Linked DNA regions of Homo sapiens: all the other regions are linked to region 1. Evidence: promoter capture Hi-C in human tissues and cell types (Jung and others, 2019). All regions are on one chromosome and are shown on one strand. Each heading gives the region's core, a stretch centred on a gene start or on the middle of the fragment in contact. The rest is flanking DNA. Distances are from core to core; before and after follow the strand shown. Region 1 holds the start of DCTN6 (dynactin subunit 6). Region 2 has its middle 64 kb from the start of DUSP4. Region 3 has its middle 41 kb from the start of LINC02948. Region 4 overlaps LOC105379350 (a long non-coding RNA gene). Region 5 has its middle 73 kb from the start of LINC02948.

The links. Contacts are between HindIII fragments. The study calls those that stand out against the background at their distance.
Region 2: a fragment that was not itself captured here is called in contact with the fragment with the promoter of DCTN6 in region 1 in 1 of the 25 tissues and cell types used here (lymphoblastoid cells).
Region 3: a contact is called between a fragment that was not itself captured here and the fragment with the promoter of DCTN6 in region 1, in 1 of the 25 tissues and cell types used here (heart right ventricle).
Region 4: a contact is called between a fragment that was not itself captured here and the fragment with the promoter of DCTN6 in region 1, in 2 of the 25 tissues and cell types used here (IMR-90 fibroblasts and spleen).
Region 5: a contact is called between a fragment that was not itself captured here and the fragment with the promoter of DCTN6 in region 1, in 1 of the 25 tissues and cell types used here (lymphoblastoid cells).

What each region holds. Positions count from the first base shown.
Region 1 is chr8:30,154,884-30,157,714 of GRCh38, reverse strand. DCTN6 (dynactin subunit 6) reads right to left here and starts at 1,346. Exons shown (of 7, transcript NM_006571.4): 1 at 1,309-1,346. The coding sequence starts at 1,331. DCTN6-DT (DCTN6 divergent transcript) reads left to right here and starts at 1,055. Exons shown (of 1, transcript NR_186490.1): 1 at 1,055-1,886. LOC124901927 (a long non-coding RNA gene) reads left to right here. Exons shown (of 2, transcript XR_007060880.1): 2 at 1-543. RefSeq lists a silencer at 976-1,085 and enhancers at 1,146-1,295, 1,239-2,221, 2,046-2,255. The HindIII fragment of the contact is 3,226 bases long and covers 1-2,768 here.
Region 2 is chr8:29,413,551-29,416,381 of GRCh38, reverse strand. No RefSeq gene overlaps it. Among named protein-coding and RNA genes, the nearest start is that of DUSP4, 64 kb to the right of the region's middle. The HindIII fragment of the contact is 6,412 bases long and covers 1-2,831 here.
Region 3 is chr8:29,519,446-29,522,276 of GRCh38, reverse strand. No RefSeq gene overlaps it. Among named protein-coding and RNA genes, the nearest start is that of LINC02948, 41 kb to the left of the region's middle. The HindIII fragment of the contact is 6,406 bases long and covers 1-2,831 here.
Region 4 is chr8:29,540,845-29,543,675 of GRCh38, reverse strand. The region is part of intron 1 of LOC105379350 (a long non-coding RNA gene); the gene reads right to left. Among named protein-coding and RNA genes, the nearest start is that of LINC02948, 20 kb to the left of the region's middle. The HindIII fragment of the contact is 5,876 bases long and covers 1-2,831 here.
Region 5 is chr8:29,633,850-29,636,680 of GRCh38, reverse strand. No RefSeq gene overlaps it. Among named protein-coding and RNA genes, the nearest start is that of LINC02948, 73 kb to the right of the region's middle. The HindIII fragment of the contact is 6,582 bases long and covers 1-2,831 here.

The sequences.
Region 1 (2,831 bases), core at 97-2,596:
CCACCAACAGCCACCAACAGCCCCCAGCAATGAAGACTACCGGAGAAGAAGCCAAACTTCCTGTCCCCACATGTTTACAAAGGAGCTTGTCCACTCCACGCCTGGCAAAAAATGTCACAGTTCTAAGCTTATACACTATTGGTGGGAATATAAATTAGTTCATCTATTGAAAATAGTATGGTGATTTCTCAAAGGACTAAACACAAGTACCATTGGACCCAGCAATCCATATAGAGCTACCAATCCAAACGGAACTACCATTCGACCCAGGATCTACTCAAAGGAAACCATTGTATTAAAAAGACAACTGCACTCCTATGACTATCACTGTACTATTCACAATAGCAAAGTATGGAATCAACCTAAGTGTTCATCAACGGATGACTGGATAAAGGAAATGTGGTGTATCTATACGATGGAATACTACAGAGCCATCAAAAAGAAAGGAAACATGTCTTTTGCAACAACATGGATGGAACTGGAGGCCATTACCTTACGCGATAACTCAGAAATAAAATCAAATGCACATGTTCTCACTTTTAAGTGGGAGCTAAAATGAGTACACATAAACATAAAGAGGGAAATAACAGACACTGGGGACTCTAAAAGCAGCGAGGGTAGGAGGGGTTTGAGGGCTGAAAAATTACCCATCTGATACAATGTTCACTATTTGGGTGGTAAGTACACTAGAAGCCAACTTCACCATTACGCAATTTATCTATGCAACAAATCTGCGCAAGTACTCCTTGCATCTATATAATGTGTGTGTGTGTGTGTCACAGTTCAAGTCCAGGCGCGGCCCCCCTTTTGACAGCGACCGTAAATCCCTTTACACACCCCACCCTCCAGAGACAGGAAGGGCCTGGGGTGCGGCCAGCACTGGCGTGGGGGTCTCGCAACATGCAGCAGAGAATCCAGCGCCAAGCCGTGGGGTACAGCGGCGCCAAGCACCGCCGATTATGCGGGAGAAGGGAGCCGGCCTTCCCCAGGAAAAAGCTGACGTCACCCTCCCCTCACAGCCCCCCCCGCCCTCCCGGCCGGGAGACCCCCTCTGCGCAGGCGCATGTGGGGAGGGACGGCCAGACAGGAACAAAAACCTTCCAGGCAGCGACTCCGCGTCCCTTCTCAACCCTCCCCGCCCCCACTCCGTCGCCCCCTCCCTCAGTGGACGCCAGGTCTGGGCTTCAGGTACCTTCGGCCCGAATGCCCAGGATGAGACACCTTCTGAGTCGCCACCATTGGCGACCAGGAACAGGTTCCACCCCTACGGAAAGCTGAGAAAAGGCTTTTCTCAAGCAGCAAACCCACCTCTTTTGAGTCTTCTCCGCCATGGTACGGCCCCAATTGGAACGTAGATCGACACCACCGCCTGGGTAGAGCGATAATTCCACATGCGATTGGAGAGCCTGGCAGGGTTGGGGGAGGGGCGGAGCCGGGGTGGGGCGGGGACCCGGAAGCTTGCGACTCTTGTTTGCGTCGCGTCTGGGCGCACAGGACTGTACTTTTGGTAGCGGTGCGGGGCCGCCCGCGGACTTTAGCCCTGCATAGAGATGGGTAGACCCTAATTTGGAACAGCCATTGACTGGGCACAGGCCAGCACTTTGGGAGGCCGAGAGGCCGAGGCAGGAGGATCGCTTGAGGCCAGGAGTGCCAGACTGCGAGACTAGCCTGGGTAACATAGTGAGACCCTCTCTTCAAAAAAAAAAAAAAAAAAAAAAAAAAAAAGCCTGTCACGGTGGCCTGCGCCTGTACCCCAGCTACTCGAGAGGATCGCCTGAGCCCAGTGAAGCTGCAGCGAGCTGTGAGGATGCCACCGCACTCCGGCCTGGGCTAAAAAGCTAGATCGTGTCTCTGATAAAAGAATAAAAGCTGTTTATTGCAATCCAGTCCGCGTCATTATGCCCTCATTTTACCCACTCGCGTAGGCGTAATTACACCCTAAAGGTATTTCTCTGACCTCGCCGATGTCCTTTTCAGCCTGTCTTTCTCTACTCATTAGGGCTCCTTCTGGCCCTTTTCTCGCTCTATATGAGTGCATCCTTCCTATAGGTTAAGTGCCCTCTACCTGTTTGCTCTCTAATGAATGTCTCTGGTTCTGCCCTCTGTGCCGATCTTCACACCTGACATTCGGTTGACTAATTGACATCTCCGCTCAGAGTCGTATCGAACCTAAAACTTACAGAACATGACTTTCGATTAACACTGCCGTCCTCCCTGCAACCTGCTGCTTTTTTGATCCACACCATTTGCCTAGCTGCTCAAGCCAGACACTCAAGAGTCACCCTGGCACTCCTCACCCCTACATCTGTAATAGATCTGCAAGTTCTGCTTGTCCTACCTCGGGTCTCATGCTTACACTTTTGTCTACCGGACCATCTCTCTAATCTCAGCCGATGTGTCTCTCCCAGTTGTTCACTCATTCTGTACTTGGCCTCTGAAATCACACCTCCTCATCTCCCACCCCCAACCCTGATCCAAGTAGTTCTCTTGTAGTCAAAATCATCCTTTAAAAGACAAATTGAGGCCAGGCGCGTGGCTCAAACCGGTAATCCCAGCACTTTGGGGGGCCGAGATGGGAGGATCGCTTGAGGCCAGGAGTTGGAGACCAGCCTGGTCAACACAGCATGATCCCGTCTCTATATATTTTTTCTATAATGTATTTTTTTAATGGAAAAAAATTAAAAATAAGAGCCAAATTCAGTTATTTCCCCTTCCTCTTAAAATCTAAAATCCAAACTGCTTTCCATAACCTATCTCTGAGCTACATCCAGCCCCTGCCTACTTCTCTCTTTCTCTTTCTATGTGTTCGATCACACCCTCATTCTCCAAAA
Region 2 (2,831 bases), core at 88-2,587, 740 kb after region 1:
CAAAATGGCTGCACCATTTTGTATTCCCACCAGTAAAGCAAAGCACAAGAGTTCAGGTAAATTCACATCCTTGCCAACACTTGATAAAATCAATCTTTCTAATGTTAGCCTAGAATGTTACACTAGAATGTGGGTGTGTAGTCATATCTCACTGTGGTTTCAATTTACATTTTCCTAATGTCTAATGGTATTGAGTATCTTTTCACATGCTATTTTCCATGGTGAAGTGTTTCTTAAACCTTATCTTCATTTGTTAATGGGGTTGTGTAATTTCTTATAATTGAATTGTAAAAGTCTCTATGTATTCTGGATACAAGTCCTTTATCATATATATATTCTGCAAATAATTTCATCCAGTTCTTGGCTTTTTAAATTCTTTTACAAGTGTCTTTTGAAAAACAGTTTATAATATTGATGAAGTTAAATTTATCATTTTTTTCATTCATGCTTTGTACTATTTTTGTGTCCTACCCAAGACATTTTTTACTAATTCACTGTCACGAAAATTTTCTGTTTTCTTCTAGTAGTTTTATAACTTTAGCTTTTATATTTAGGCCTATGATTCATTTTAAGTTAAATTTTGTAATACAGTGTGAGGTAAGGGTCAGGGCTGTTTGTTTTTTGTGCTTTTGTTTTTGTTTTTTTGGCATATGAAAATCCAGTTGTTCCAGCCCTATTCGTTCAAAAGATTATCACTTCTTCATTGAATTGCCTTGGCAACTCTGTTACTGGAAAGGGATCCCAATCTAGATCCCAAGAGAGAGTTTTTGGATCTCACACAAGAAGGAATTCAGAGTGAGTCCATAGAGTAAAATGAAGGTAAGTTTATTAGGAAAGTAAAGGAATAAACAATGGTCACTCCATAGGCAGAGCAGCCCCAAGGGCTGCTGGTTGCCCATTTTTATGATTATTTCTTGATTATATCCTAAATATAGGATGGATTATTCATTTCTCCCCTTTTTAGACCATATTGAGCATTTGTAAACTGTCATGGCACTGGTGGGAGTGTAGCAGTGAGGATGACCAGAGGTCACTCTTGTCACCATCGTAGTTTGGATGGGTTTTAGCTGGCTTCTTTACTGCAGCCTGTTTTATCAGCAGGGCCTTTATGACCTGTATCTTGTGCTGACCTCCTATCTCATCCTGTGACCTAGAATGCCTTAACCATCTGGGAAAGCAGCCCAGTAGGTCTCAGCCTTATTTTACCCAGCCCATATTCAAGATGGAGTTGCTCTGGTTCAAACACCTCTGACAACTCTGCTGGAAATCTGTTGACTATGTATGTGTGGATCTACTTCCAGACTCTCTCTTCTGTCACATTTATCTTTATGTCCGTCTGAATACTAATGCCTCACTAAGTTACTTATTATTACAACTTTATATTGTCTTAAAATTAGGTAATGTAAGTCCTCCAACTTTGATGTACCCTTTCAAAAAATTAGTTTAGTCTTTATTAGATTTTTACTTATAAACGATTTTATTATAAAAATTAAAATTAAAAATTAAACACCACAAGGAAAGGAAAAAGACAAGCCAAGAACTTAGAGAAGACATTGGTAGCCCATATAAAAAACAACAGATCTTTTATCTATAATATATACATTGTTCATACATTCAATAAGAAAAATACACACAAACCCAAATAAAATCCGATAAAGAACCTGTAAACACTTAGCAGAAAACAAAGCACTAATAGCAAATAAACATTTGGGTGAAAAAATTCTAAACTACCTTGATGGCTGGGCGTGGTGGCTCACGCCTGTAATCCCAGCACTTTGGGAGGCCAAGGTGGGTGGATCATGAGGTCAGGCGTTCAAGACCAGCCTGGCCAACATAGTGAAATCCCATCTCTACTAAAAATACAAAAAATTAGCCAGGCATGGTCGTGGGCGCCTGTGATCCCAGCTACTTGGGAGGCTGAGGCAGGAGAATTGCTTGAACCTGGAAGGCGGAGGTTGCAGTGAGCCAAGATTGTGCCACTGCACCCCAGCCCTGGCGACAGTGCAAGACTCCGTCTCAAAAAATAAATAAATAAATAAATAAACTACCTTGATAATTAGTAAAAAGCAAATTAAAATGACAATAGGCTATCAGTTTACAATGTAGCAAATTTTACAACTTGGGAAAAATTAAGAAATTGACAATATTAACTATTTGCAGAAATGGGAAGCAACAGAAACTCTTAACACTGCTGGAAAGATTGTAAATTGGTAAAACTCCTTAAAAAAACACTTGACATTACAGTGGTCCCCCCTTATCTGAGGGAGATATGTTCCAAGACCCCCAGTGGATGTCATAAACTATAGATAGTATGGAACCCTATATATACTATGTTTTTTTCTATCCATAACATACCTATGATAAATTCAGGTTATAAATTAGGCACAGTAAAAGATTAACAATAACTAATAATAAAATAGAACAATTAGGCACAGTAAGAGATTAACAATAACTAGTAATAAAATAGAACAATTTTAACAATATATTATAATAAAAGTTGTGTGAATGTGCTTTCCCTCTCTCTCTTTCTCAAAATATCTTCTTGTACATAATATTTTTGGATCACAGTTAACCACAGGCAACTGAAACTGCAGAAAGTGAAACCTCAGAAAAAGAGGGACTTCTGTATCTAATGTAGTTAAACCATAAAATTTTAAATCAGGAAAAAAAGACAGAATAATATACAGATGTTCCTCAGTGTACAATGAGGTTACATACTGATAACCCTATTGTAAACAGAAAATGCATTTAATACAACTAACATATGGAACATCATAGCTTAGGTTAGACTACCTTGAATGTGCTCAGAACACTATGGGCAAAATCATCTG
Region 3 (2,831 bases), core at 181-2,680, 640 kb after region 1:
TAATAAAGCCATATTGAGCCCCTACAAGGCAAGGCCCTGAGGGGGAAAAAGAGAAGTAAAACATATCATATGTCTTCAAGCAGCTTTTGGTCTCTGCAGAGAGAAGAAAAACTGGGAAAAAGAGAGAGAAGAGAGAGAGGGAAATTGAAAGAGAGAGAGAGGAGAGGCCACCTGGATTTACCATTTATTACATTGTAATGTAATTGCTGGTGTAATTTTCTCTCCTTTCGCTGTACACTCCAGGATCGATAATTTAGGCTTCTATTTTATATGTAAACTATTTCAAATTCGATTTTTACAGAAATCTGATATTTATCAGCAACTCACTGAAAGCCAAGCCATCCTGAAGTGGCTCATGGGGCTGTTTCTCCTAGGAGAGTATCTCTGCAACTTCTTTGTGGACCATCCAAAGGTAATTCAGCAGTGGCTGAAATTCTATTCGATAAGCTGAGATCCCTCTTTTCACACTTCTGTATGGTCCTATGAGTGCCGTTAACCACAGAGCTGTCTCTCTCACTGATGGAATTAATAACTTACTGGCCAGGGACAGTGGCTCACGCCTGTAATCCCAGCACTTTGGGAGGCAGGCAGATCACTTGAGGTCAGGAATTCGAGACCAGCCTGGCCAAAATGATGAAACCTCGTCTCTACTAAAAAAAAAAAAAAAAATTAGCCGGGAGTGGTGGCATGTGCCTGTAATCCCAGCTACTCAGCAGGCTGAGGCAGGAGAATCACTTGAACCTGGTAGGTGGAGGTTGCAGTGAGACGAGATCACGCCACTGCACTCCAGCCTGGATGAGAGAGAGAGACTGTCTCCAAAAAAAAAAGGGGGGAGGAATTAATAACTTACCACAAACAACTCAAACATTCAATTCATTACTCTTCAATAACCCTAAGGCAGGAATTCAACAATGCAAATAAACCTCAGGAGAGTTCCAGATACAAGGTACCAGAGACAGGCAGTTCTAGGAAAGTGAGTCCCAGGAGGAAGAATATGTCAGAACAGTAGGCTTTTAGCCAAAAGGATTTTCAAAACTAATTTCTCTTCCATCTTTTAGAGAGAAGACTAGATATTTTAAATACTAGTTTTTGAAAGCCAAGCATATTCCTGGGACATTTCACAGTTACTTATTCACTAAACCACTGCTAAACTTGGGGGTCTTTTAGGTTTCCAACCTCAGCTCCCACATGAAGCTTTTCAAAATGAAACCTTGGTATGTGTTTACTGAACAGCTTCTCTCTACATGGTCAAGCAGACTTAATCTCAGAAAAGGAGAGACATTTCTGGTAAGTAAATGACCCAAACAGGAAGTGAGCCCATGACAAGTGCGTAGAATGTGCTGGAAGGTGTGCAAAGATGAGGAAGGTCCTTGGGGACATAGCTCATGCTTTTCCCAGCAGAGCTCCTCAGCATCGTGGTCTTTTCCCCCTCACCCCCCTGCAAGGAGAGTCCTGGCAGGAAGGTGCCAGCCAGGACCTCTGTGGCCAGTAGGAGCTCATTTCCTGGCCCATGGCTTCTACCTGATGCTGTGATATTGACCAAGCTAACATTATAGGAGATGCAAATTATATGTTTCCTATGACTGCTGTCACAAATCACCACAAATCCGGTGGTTTGTTTGTTTGTTTGTTTGTTTGTTTGTTTGTTTGAGACGGAGTCTCACTCTGTCGCCCAGGCTGGACTGCAGTGACACCGTCTTGGCTCACTGCAACCCCTGCCTGCCAGGTTCAAGCGATCCGCCTGCCTCAGCTTGGGATTATAGGCGCGTGCCCTACGCCCAGCTTATTTTTTGTATTTTTTTTTAGTAGAGACAGGGTTTCACCATGTTGGCTAGGGTGGTCTCAAACTCCTGACCTCAAGAGATCCGCCCACCCAGGTCTCCCAAAGTGCTGGGAGTACAGGCATGAGCCACCGTGGCTGGCCCAAACTTAGTGGCTTAAACAATACAACTTATTATCTTTCAATTCTGGAAATTGGAAGTCAGAAATGGGTCTCACTGGGCTAAAATCGAGGCATCAGCAGGACTGTGTTCCTTCCGGAGGCTCTAGGGAAGAATCGGTCTCCGTGTCTACAAGAACACCCTCAAACTGCACCTTCCTGTATCTTCAAAGCCAGCGAGGCCGGTTGGGTCCTTCTGACATTGAGTACCTCTGACCTACGCTTCTGCCTCCATCTTCTAAGGTCCTTTGTGTTAACATAAGATAAACCAGGATAATTCTTGTTAAAGTCAGCTGATGAGCAACTTTAATTCCATCTGCAACTTTAATTCTCCTTTTGCCGTGCATTATAACACTCACAGATTCTGAGGATTAGGATGTAGACATCTTTGGCGGCCAGTGGGGAGGGAGGTGAGGGCACACTTTATTCTTCCTACCACACAATCAAACCAACATAAATAGGATGAAAGATGGGGAAGCATGCCCTCTAGATTAACACAACGAAAATGTGAAAACACCAGACAATGCAAGTTAGGTGCAAGCTTTAAAGTGAAAAAACACAAGACAGTCATGGGCAGGGGCCAGAACACCCCCATGTGTCAGGGGACATGGTAATGAAATCAAAGAAGGATGAAGCCCTCCCAGAGATTTTTGATGTGTGAGAACCAATAGGAACCTCGAGAAGTCATAGCGCTACCTTTATTGAGTGCTCCTACACTTTTGTGGTCATTTTGGTGCAATATTTGAAGATATTAAAAGATGCCAACCAACACAAAGCAAGCTGTCAACCATTGCAGCACTTCACATTGCCTTTAAAAGCACCCAGCCGGGCGTGGTGGCTCACTCCTGTAATCCCAGCACTTTGGGAGGCTGAGGTGGGCAGATCATGAGGT
Region 4 (2,831 bases), core at 247-2,746, 610 kb after region 1:
AAGCCCTTCTAAGAGGCTTTCCTCCTTGGTTCCCCTCCCTCATCTCTCTTCTAGGCCCCTCTGCATAGGTCCTGGCTTTATCCTGCCTCAGCTGCCTGGGCTCTGCTATGAATTAGTTTCCTAGGACTGTTGTAAGGAAGTATCACTAACCAGGTGGCTTAAAACAACAGATATCTATTCTCCCATCCTTCTGGAGGCTGGACGTGCAGAATCAAGGTGTCTGCAGGGCCACACTCCCTCCAAACCTCTAGGGGAAGACCTCTCCTTCCCTCTTCCAGCTTCTGGTGGACAGAGCATCCTTGGCTTGTGGCAACATCACTCCAATGTCTGCCCTGTCACAAGTGTTCTCTGTGTGTGGCTGTGTCTCTTCTCTTCCTGTAAGTGTAACTGCCCAGTGGGTTCCCCTTGCCTGCTGCCTAGAGAGAACCGATTTATCAAGACAGCGGAATTGCAATGGAGAAAGAGTAATTCACACAGAGCCACCTGTGCAAGAGACCAGAGTTTTATTATTACTCAAATCTGTCTCCCCGAGCATTCGGGGATCTGAGTTTTTAAAGATAATTTGGCAGGTAGGGTCTTGGGAAGTGGGGAGGCTGATTGGTCAAGTTGGAGATGGAATCATAGGGGGTCGAAGTTAGGTTTTCCTAATGTCTTGTGTTCCTGGGTGCAATGGCAGAGCTGGTTGGGCAGAACTGGTTGGGTCTGGGTGGTGTCAGCTGCTCCATCAAGTGCAAGGTCTGCAAAATATCTCAAGCTCTGATCTGAGATTTTACAATAGTGATGTTACCTATTGCGGGATCTGGCCAGCAGCCCGCAATGCAATAGGGCTCTCTCTTTGTTCCCAGGCAGGTCGGCAGGTTGAGAAATAATAGACACACACAAGATAGTGAAAGCTGGGTCCGGGGGGGTCACCGCCTTCTGGTCCTGTGGTGCCAACAATGCACTGGATATACCAGCACTTATTAAATTTAGTGAGGGCAGGGGTAGGTTAGTGATGGATTTAGGGTCATTTGATTATGAGGTGAGATGGTCACATGGGGATGAAGTAATTCTTTAACATAACATTTGTATGTAGAAGTACAGTACATTTGTATGTAGAAGTACAGTATACAGAGATAAGAATTTACAATATAGTGTGTGCATCAGTAATTTTTAACAGAGCCTTAAAACCGAAACACAATCTTTCCATAACCTATGATTAGCAAGATATTAATCAGCAGTAACAATTGCCACACAAGCTGGTTACGAACAATCCATGGAAACAGGACGTGAAGCTAGACAACCGGTTAGACCAGAAATTCTCAGAAGGGAGTATGCCTTAACCCTAAAGAGGCCTAGAAGAGCCATGGCAAGATGAGGGCGTTTATAGCCCTATCGTATCCATATGGACAGGTGCCACCCCTCCCCAACGCACCCATTTATAGGCTCTCCACAAGGGTTGCATTCCATTCCCAGAGCTATGAACATCTGCTTTTCTGGGATAGGAATCTTGGTGATGTGAAACCTCCCTGACTGCACATCCATTCATAGGCTCTCTGCGGGGGGAAGCACATCACGCGCTGTTGGCTCTTTCTGGCAGTCCAAACTGGCATTGTCTTTACACAATCCTGCATGTAATTTTGTATTTACAATAACCAGGAGCATTTCATCTTTTACTCCGTAGCAATAGTTTCAGGGGGACTCCCTACAGTTACCCCCAGGAGCAATTTGGGGAGGTTCAGACTCTTGAAGCCAGTGGCTAATTTCTAATCTTATAGCTAATTTGTTAGTCCTGCAAAAGCAGATTGGACCCCAGACAAGAAAGGGGTCTTTTCAGGAAAGGGCTATTATCGATTTTGTTTCAGAGTCAAACAATGAACTGAATTCCTTCCCAAAGTTTGACCTACGCCCAGGAAAGAACAAGGACAGCTTAAGGGTCAGAGAAGCAAGACAGAGTCGGTTAGGGCTGACTTCTTTCACTGTCATAATTTCCTCAGTTATAATTTTGCAAAGGCAGTTTCTTAAGGGCACTAGTTATACTGGATTAAGGGTCCACCCTATTCCAGTATCTCCTCTTAACTTCCATCTTAATTACTTCAGCAAAGACTGTACTTCCAAACAAGGCCACATTCATAGGTACCAGGCGTTACCACTTCAATATGTCTTTTTGGGGGACACAATTCAACTCACAACACCCTGGATACCTATATTCTACTGAGAGGGACCCCACCATACATCAGGTCTATTCTGTCATTTAAATAGAATCCCAAGGCAAAACTTCCCAAGGGTGATTCTGTTAAAAGCCTCCTTCCCTGCTGTGGGGCGGGATGGAGATAAACAAAGGGGTAAAGAGGATGGAAAACCCACCTCCTTCCATGTTGGGGAGGATGAGTACAGGCAGGAGAGAAGGACAGAGAAGCCAGCCCTGCCAAAGTGCATGTTCTGCGTTGATGCTACCTGCTCATCTGCTGGTTAAATCTCCTCTAAAGTGATGCTGACTTTAAGCCTGTAATGGAAAGGAGGGTAGAACCTGCTCTACCACTGCCTCTGAGAAGTCATTTAACCTTTCTGATCTCTGGTTTCCTTGCCTGTAAAATGAAGGGGTTTAACTATATTACCCGGGGTGTGGTGGGGGGGTTAGCTTGAAAATGTCCCCAGTTTTATGGTGACATTTGGGGGTTTCCTGCTCTCACGGACTCTGGGTTAATCAGAGGCAACTGACTGAGGATGTGGCAGACGTCCCAGGCAGGGGTCTCTGGATGGAGACGCTGCCTCACAGCAGTCCCTGGCCCCTCTGCTGCCGGCACTCAACAGTACCTGGGCTGGTAGACCAGAAGACTGAATTGGTGGCA
Region 5 (2,831 bases), core at 111-2,610, 520 kb after region 1:
AGCATCACATTGTAACTGAGCTTGTGAAAGTTTAACCGCTCCTCATAACAAGATCTGCTGGTTCACTAACTGCAAAAACAAACAGAAAAAAAGAGTAAGAGAAAACTGAAAAGTCTCCATTTGATCTTGTATATTGAATTTACTTCCCATCTTCTAACAATGGAATGATATTCAATCTCCACTAGAACACCACTTTGACATCTATGACTTGGAGGATGTGTAATGCTAGGAAAATAGCCTTATAGGGCCGTAGGGACTGCTGATGTATCTGTGATCCTATAAAGCTGCTTGTGGGCAATGCATAACAGAGTCAGGGTTCAGTTTTATATAAGTTGGTGAAAATAAATAGGATATGCTATTACTTGGGACTTTTTATCCTCAGATCTCCATGGATCTGGAATACTAAGACTATACAAAGTTTCCATTTGGTCTCATGGTTGTCTATTTACAACACAACTAAAATGCCTGCAGCTGGGAAGAAGCGCCTGCACACTGGCGCTCCTTGTGGTCAGCTGTTGTTGTAATGGGATGCCCCAGGGAGCTGGCTCCCCCACAGGCCAGAAGAAGGTTTGAAATAAAGGGAGTGGCGCTTCCACTCACCCTGCACCAGAGCCTGAGCTCTCACTTGCTTGTGCTCACCAGGAGTGACCGAAGATCCGACGCTCTGGCTTCCCAAGATGGAACCCAGTACTTGACTCCAAGCATCACAGGTACCTTTGTATGAAAATGGAAGTGGTGACTACCTGGTGACCTCCCTACCCTGCCAACTCCCCTCCCCAGAATGTGTCCGATCACACCTCCCAAGCTTGAATTATCTTCAAGGAGTCCTTCACTCTAACAAATCAGTCTTAAAATTGAAATATGCCGGTAGAGGCAGCTCCTCACCTTTCCATCGCATTAAGATGCAAATGACTGACATCAAATGCTTTCCTGACAGCTGGTTTGCTGGGGCACACTCTGGGCTATGGGAGGGAAGGAAAACACAGAAATGGAAGCAGAGGTCTTGGTTTTAAACTTGAATCTTGTTCTCTTTGTTCAGAAATTCTTTGGGCTGTGAGGGCAGTGCTGGGAGAACAAGGAGTCCACTGGTTACATGTTCTTCCCTCTGTCAAGTGCTTTGCTTAGGCTCTCAATTTTATAGCCTCCTTTTCAATCTCTGCTATCCTTTGCCTTCCCAGAGAGGTCACTTGCGAATGACCAGATCTAATGTGCACAACCTGACATGTTTTCCCCTTGGATGGCATCTTCCTCCCTCACTGTTTTCTTTCTTCCTCTGGGATATCACTTGTTTGGGTGATTTACAGTAGAAATTTTTCCTTTGTTTATACAGAGGATGCCACGACTTCTCGGGAAGTGAGTTAGGCCCCTGTCATCCCTGTTCTAACAGTGTAGTGACGGAAATAAATGAGGGAGGGTGACTCCCCCACCTGCTGTTCCAAACAGGGAAGAGGGCTCTGTGGTATTCTCTGAGCTGAGCCTGTAGTTGCACTTCTCAAGTGCAGGAAAGGTCACGGAAGTGGACACCAGCTCTCTGCCAGTTTGTTCTGAGAACTGAGAACGGTGGTTTCATAACCGATTGCATGAAGCTGAAGAAATCAGCCTCTGCTAGGGCTGGCACCAGAAGCATCGGTTCCCCAGATCTTCATGTATTTTTCCCTACTTTGTGCCATTCTCTCTCTCCTTCTGGACCATTTCTTCCTCCCCCTTCTCACATACGCATTGCCCTACCCTCTCTTGTCAAATCATCCTCACAGAATATGACCTTAAACGTGCTCTTGGTAAATTATAAATCACTGGAAAGAGCTTTGGCTCTCCCCTTTCCCGGGGTATTACACTTTAACAAGGATCAAAGGCTTAAATTAAAAGAATTAGTCTCTCATTGGGGGTTCTAAGCCACCAATATAGGAGAATAATTATTAAAGGAGAGGTACCATGAGGCATCCCAATATCCTTGAAATTATATACTTAGAAGGTGACTTGAAAAGGTAGAATTGAAGTCGTGGATGATTCTTCATCATGCCCTGTCTCTGCTGCGATGTTTCTAACACAGAACAACTTATATCCCTCAGTCTTCTAAAGAATTCATTTAATCCAATCTCCAAGATAGTGTCTGAGGCCCTACTGGGACATTCCTGATTTGTGTTCAATCAATAGTTCAAAAATCAGAGAATTCACTGTCTTCCTAGGCAAGGCAACTCATTGACAGACATTCCCAAATATTAGTAAGTTCGCCTGTTCCATTTACTCACTGGTCTTTAGCTCATTCTTAAAGCCTTGTGGGTTACATCTACTCTCTCTTGCATATGATAGTCTTCCAAAGAGCTGAAGACAATGGTCACATCCTCAATGCCTGGTTTATTCTTCTGCAAATTGAGAGTTACTCTGGCAGAGTGAATTGAGCAAAAAATCCACAGGAGGGATATACCCCTGTGGATGTGATGGCTTTAAAATGTGGCCATAAATTAGGTGTATTCTGAGATAGTGATATAGTTAGGCTCTGTGTACAAATCTCATGCTGAATTATGATCTTCAGTGTTGGAGCAGGGGCTTGGTGGGAGGTGATTGGATCATGGGGGCAGATTTCCCCCTTGCTGTTCTCCTGATAGTGAGTGAGTTCTCACGAGATCTAGTTGTTCAAAGTGTGTAGCACTTGCCCCTTCTCTCTCTCTCTCTCTCTCTCTCTCCTGATCTGCCATGGTAGGAAATGCTTGCTTCCCCTTTGCTTTCTGCCATGATTGTAAGTTTCCTGAGGCCTCCCAGCCATACTTCCTGTACAGCCTGCAGAACTATGAGTCAATTAAGTCTCTTTTATCCATAAATTACCCAGTCTT